Linked DNA regions of Homo sapiens: region 1 is linked to region 2. Evidence: promoter capture Hi-C in 16 types of primary human blood cells and fetal thymus (Javierre and others, 2016). All regions are on one chromosome and are shown on one strand. Each heading gives the region's core, a stretch centred on a gene start or on the middle of the fragment in contact. The rest is flanking DNA. Distances are from core to core; before and after follow the strand shown. Region 1 overlaps SEC24D (SEC24 homolog D, COPII component). Region 2 holds the start of SYNPO2 (synaptopodin 2).

What was found. Contacts are between HindIII fragments. The CHiCAGO score rates a contact against its expected background, and 5 or more counts as called.
Region 1: a contact is called between a fragment that was not itself captured here and the fragment with the promoter of SYNPO2 in region 2, in 2 of 17 cell types (total CD4 T cells and naive CD4 T cells). The highest score is 5.7, in total CD4 T cells.

Annotation. Positions count from the first base shown.
Region 1 is chr4:118,771,146-118,774,152 of GRCh38, reverse strand. The region is part of intron 8 of SEC24D (SEC24 homolog D, COPII component); the gene reads left to right. Among named protein-coding and RNA genes, the nearest start is that of SEC24D, 63 kb to the left of the region's middle. The HindIII fragment of the contact is 3,044 bases long and covers 150-3,007 here.
Region 2 is chr4:118,887,375-118,890,190 of GRCh38, reverse strand. It overlaps SYNPO2 (synaptopodin 2), which reads right to left and starts at 1,337. Exons shown (of 5, transcript NM_133477.3): 1 at 1,050-1,337. The coding sequence starts at 1,154. The HindIII fragment of the contact is 15,302 bases long and covers 1,206-2,816 here.

The DNA of each region.
Region 1 (3,007 bases), core at 422-2,921, 120 kb after region 2:
ACTAAAATCTTCTGAAAATGCAAAAAAGCAAAGTTTTAGGTTAAGAAGAGCCAACTAAAAGCATTAAATTTTTTAATAAATATTATTTATAAAAATATAAATATAGTCTTAGAACTAACACAATGTATTAAGTGTCTTATCCTCAAGCTTGCTGTTTCTTTTTAGAAGACACATGATAGGATTTTATTTTTTAATTCAGAAAATATTCTTTCATTTCACATGTATTTAAAAAATTCTAAATAGAATAGTATTGCTCTCTAAAAAGCACTTGTACGGTAAATAGCCTATTGAACTGTACCTTTTTTGTCCATATAGGCCAGGTAAATGTCATATACAGTAAAGCTAAAAGTAGAAAGCACATATAAGCTGCTTCTCATTTCTCTTTCACATGGAAATGTCTTTAATAAATGCAGTTGATACAGACTCTTTTCCTTTTCGCCTCTGGGCATAATCCTTTGGGAATCTGACTGACTGCTCATCTTCCAGCATGCCTAATAGTCTGAATGTTTAACATTTTTAAAGGGTAGTTGTTCATCACAGGTTCTGGATTATCTTTTCACATACCATTTCCATGCTTCTACTTATATCCCCCAATTAATCCAAATTACCAACTGACCTCCTCTTGAGACAGTTCCAAAGAATAAGCAGCACTCCAATTCCAAGAAGTAGCCGCTTGCCAAAGTTACATTGACAATAGGAAATCACTGCTGCTAGAGAGATACATTTACAGTGATTTCCTGGGAAATACAAGTTGATGCTGAATATGATCCTTAATCAGGCTAGAAAACTGTATAACATTTTGGCAGGTCTTATCTTAAATCTTCTCATCTTATTTAGGTCCCATTGTAGGCAAAAATTTCTTTCCCATGACCAGTAACTGCTTAGCCAAGGTATTTCCTTCAGGCACTTTGTAAAGTAGAATATTGGTGCTGTGGGGACAACTGTAGAGTCCTAGGATGCTGATTACATTCCTGAATACTTCTAATGAAGGAAATAAAGAGAGAAAAAAAAGGGGGAGGAAGAAGTATACATTGAAAATGTAAAATAAGTTTTTTTTTAAAATTAGTGAATAAGTGTTAGAAAGAGAGGGGAAAGTAGGTGGTTGAAGAGTTTGTGTGTGTATATTAGAACTTACATGAACTCCGGTGCTGAAAGATAAGGAGAGTGGGTAGTGGACCAATGAGAGAAGAAAGGAGAGATGGGGCCAGTTTCACCCAGCAATGTTCTGAGTGTGGGTGGGTATGACATTACTTATTCAGAGTATTCTGAAATCTGGGCTTTGGCTACTCTGTCTCTGCCCTTTACCAGCACCATGCCTGTGATAGGATGTTCCAACAGGAAGCTAGGCGTTTGCTTTAGAAAATCATTTTTCTTCATCGCAGTGTACTGCCGTGTGCCAGGACACACCAGACATCACTGTTGCTTTGTTATTTTGCACCACGATGGCTAATGTGGAGAGTGGGCTTGGACGCTGGCAGCAGGGCATTCGTGTCATTGTTCTCTTTGCTTCACAGGCTGTCATTAGGTTGCCTGCTCCACTTTGTGGCTCCCTATCCCAACCGTACCTCTGTTTCCCTACATATACTCAAGGAAAGTCGGCAGAGGATTAGGAACTTTAAAAATAAGTTTTTCTTGGCAATTAGTAAATGTGGCACATTCTGTAGTTTCTATACAATGTATGCATAAAATAGTCTTGTATTCCATGTTTATTTGTATTTTGCTTGGCCCGGAATATTTTTAAACCATTATCAAAAGTTTCTTTGAGAAAAGCAAGTTCAGTTAAAAGTTATTAGAGTTACATGTAATGAATGTAGCATGATTATCTTGGTTGTTTTCTTGCCTGCTGGTAAGGTATATACAGCCTTAATTTTTAGTTGCATAGTGCCACCTATTGGATCTATGTGATAAAAACACTTTGGTATTTAGCTGCTTTCTTTAATTCCTCATTGCAATTCATTACTTTCCTAAAACAGAAATACTGTAGCCAGGCTTGGGTATTCAGATTTTTCTTAATAATATAGATGCCAAAACAAAAATACACACAGCCTACAAACTTGATACAGATTTTTCATGATGGGTCTTTCTACACTGTATTTTCTTTGAGCATCTGTGTTTGTTTTGGAAATACAATCTGTGAATAATTTAACATCGCCTTTCTAAATTGAAAAGAGCTTTAAAAAGAGCTCTTGTTTATGATGTTCTGCCAAGTATTGTTTCTCCTCATACCCTGTTTTTTTCATGGCATTTGTGTGTACTTTTTTATTTACTGTCTTTCTACCCCGCTACACTGTAGGTCCCTCAAAGGTACCTGTGGTACAAATGTTAAAGTTACCCAAGAGAATGGCAGCAATACTCGGAAAACTGATAATGTATTCAAATAAGAAGACTTTTAAAATTTTACTAGTGGTATTAAGAAGGCATTGGTGGATACATCTTGATGTCTGCTTCTTTTACATGGAAAAATAATCAAAAGTTGTTTTATTTTGTTTCTTAATTGTTGGATATCATTTTAGTACTAAGTCTCATTTCGTAGAATGATATTCTCACTTGTGGTCCAAAATCAACCAGTGTTTATATACATACACAAGAGATACATTTTATTCAATTAAAGCACTTTTATTAAAATTAGTATCAGCACAGTATTTGGCACACCCGTTAATCCAAAAATACAAGGAAAAGATTCACATTTTTCCTCAGCCTCCCTATCACTTTCATGTTGTGTAAACTCAGGCCACACAGGGCCAGAACCAAACAATAGCCAGGTGAGGTTTTTATAGCCAGTCTTTCTATCCTTTCACTTTTCCACTTAAGAACAGAAAAGAAAGGGCAGACAGGGATATACTAAGAGCTAAATATTAAAGTATATTTGTAAACAAAATTTTTAAAATCTGAAAATATTTCTGAGGTAAATATAATTCCCTTGGTAAGGAAAAAAGATAACTTAGGCAATTTTTTGAAAAGTAACTTGATTTTTTTTTAAAGCCATGCACACCAAGATCGAACTCAA
Region 2 (2,816 bases), core at 88-2,587:
AAAGGACACTAAAAAAAAAAAAACGTAAAAGGCAGAGGGAAACAATAACTACAAAAAAAAAAGAGTAAAAGCCAGAGGGAAACAAACAATAACTACAAAGGCAATGGCCCATGTATTTCATAAAGATCTGTACCCATTTTTAATATAAGCATAAAATAGGAAATTAATCCCATGCTCTTGCATGTTCTTCAATACAATACTATAATTTGCAATTTGATGATAAGGTTAGGTAAAAGTTTGCTTAGTTTTGTGCATTTTAAGTTTTATTTTAGCTGAATGCCAATTAGAGAATACCAGATCCCCTTGGGCTAACCAGTAATGCAGGCAATCTAATGGCAATAAAAACTTAAAGCATTTTAAATAGTTATTAATGTGTTACAAAGTTACCTCTTAGTTACTCATAATATATTTAGATTATCTTCTAAGTTTATTTTTGAGATCTTGACCAAAAGAGTACATAAGAAGGAATACAGCATTTATTGGATTTTTGCATTTATTTGTCAAATCCTTAAAAGGGTATTCTTTTAAATAGATTTTATGACACTTCATCATACTTTTAAAATTATTGCCCAACATTGGCCTTTTCATGAATGCTGCATAATAAATGTCACTACCAACACTCTATATGAGTCCCCAAAATAGCCAAGCAAAGTCGTTATGCTGAACTGAGCGTTTCTCCTCTGCCAGAGCCAAGTGAAGTGACATCAAACAATAACTCAACTGAACATTCTAAAATTGCCTGGAAGAAACGCTCCCCAGTGTCTTGCTTGTTGTCAGAAGAACATGGTTAACTAGGCCTTTTCCTCAGCTGATAAATATGGCATTCTTCCCACCCACCCCTCATCGATTGCAAGTTAATTACATAGGATGTGGCCCATTACTCTCCAAAGTTTCTTAGAAAATAACTCACTTCCTAGAAAAATCTTAATATCCGCAGCAAAATCAAATAATACTTAGACTTCTGCATCAGAACCTGAAAACACCATCAGCAGGTTGCTTTCATTCCTTCCTTCCTAGCACAGAGCCGTGACACTTCGTTCAGGTCCTACCTTTGCAACTTGTAAGGGCTGCTTCTGCTCCTTGCCACCTTGCAATCTGAACCCCCAGGGCGCCCCTCCAGTCATGGAAATGCAGATAAAATCCCCTGTGCCCATGTTTTCCTTTTAGTTGGGCAGCATGAAGAGCTTGACGAGACAGACGAAGCTTGGGTGCGGTAGAGGATGCGCACTCAGCTTCGGGCGCCTGCCGAGGACGCAAGACTGGGTAATGCAGAGCGTCCGCCGCTGCTGCAGCCGCTGCCCCAGCCGCCGCCCCAGCCGCCTGCTGCGAATTTGTGCGGCTAATGGGCTCATTCTCAAGGAGGCAGAGGCGCTCGCAGCATCCAGGACACAGCCCACTCTTGCGTCACTCTCCTTTGCTCGGCCCACCTTCGAGGAAAGGAAAGCAGCTTCACACACAGGAGAATGTCCTCACGTGGGGCGAGATAAGGGAAAGGAGGACGGAAGGGAGAGCCAAAGTTATCTTGCACTAACAGATTAAATCCAAGCAGTTAATGGTATAAGTATGATTGAAAAACTTACATTTAATAATTCTGTAAATAGTAAAGGACACATGAAGGTTTAATCTCCACGCCATGAATGACGTCCTAAAATAGGAGCGTTGGGAATTCAACTACTAGAGGATTAGATTCTCTCAAATAAATGTTTTGAGACTTGCCACATTTATGAATGGAATAGACAAAAAAGAGTTAAAATGAGTTAAATTACTACTTTTCTGTCTGCATTCTGCTGAATTATTCCTATAAGAGGAAACAAAAGAAAGCACAAACTTTTTGTTAATAAACCTCCAGCTCTGAAAAGTACCTTTCTGAACCATATATTTAGAGAAAGGGGAAGAGAAGAGACAGAAAGGGAGAGAGAAAGAGAGAAAATGAATATGAATTTTTCTCCTGGAAACTACATTCTTATAATTACATCTATTGCATAGTTTTGGGTATGTTAAATTTTAACGTGTTTTGTTTTCTTTCTACCTGCTGATCTTCTTAAACCCAAACCCAACAGTTAGTCAACTGCATAAAATGTACAATGTCACCTACAGGTTTCTTATTTTTATAGTTTGTCATCCCATGTCATGAATCTGGGTGGTCCAATATAAAAGCAGATTTTGTATATTCCAAATATTTAAATGTTTTAAATCTGAATACAATCTGCCAAAAATGTACAAAAAGGACATTTTAATTTTCCTATAATACTTTTGTTTTCCATAACATTCATCCACATAAAAACATACTAAATAAGGAAGAGCCTGGGAAAGTTTGTTTGTGTTACTTGTGGTACCAAACAAAATTTCCAGACACGCTGCCTGTTTCAGCACTAAGAAGCACTATATACAGTAAGTCCTCACTTAAAACGTCACAGATAGGTTCATGGAAACTGTGACTTTAAAACCAATTTTACCATCGACTAATTGATAAAAACAAGGTTAAGTGACTACAGTCTATTTCTGGTCACAAAGACATCACCAAACTTTTAAATAAGATTAAAACACTTCTAATATTAAACATGGAAATAAATGTCAGCTACACATGCATTTAAGAAAGATTAATAAAAACAAGATAATCATGGACCCAATTTTTGGTGAATCAGTGAGTGAGGGCAGCTGTAGTGGTGGTGGATTCAATCAAGGAATAAATGTTTGCAAAAGGAAAATTATAAGGAGTACCTCCTGTCACAATGCAGTTCAAAACCACCACAAATATAGCAGGCTCACTGAGAAATTTCATACAGCATCATCTATTGCTGTGCATTTGTGTGATT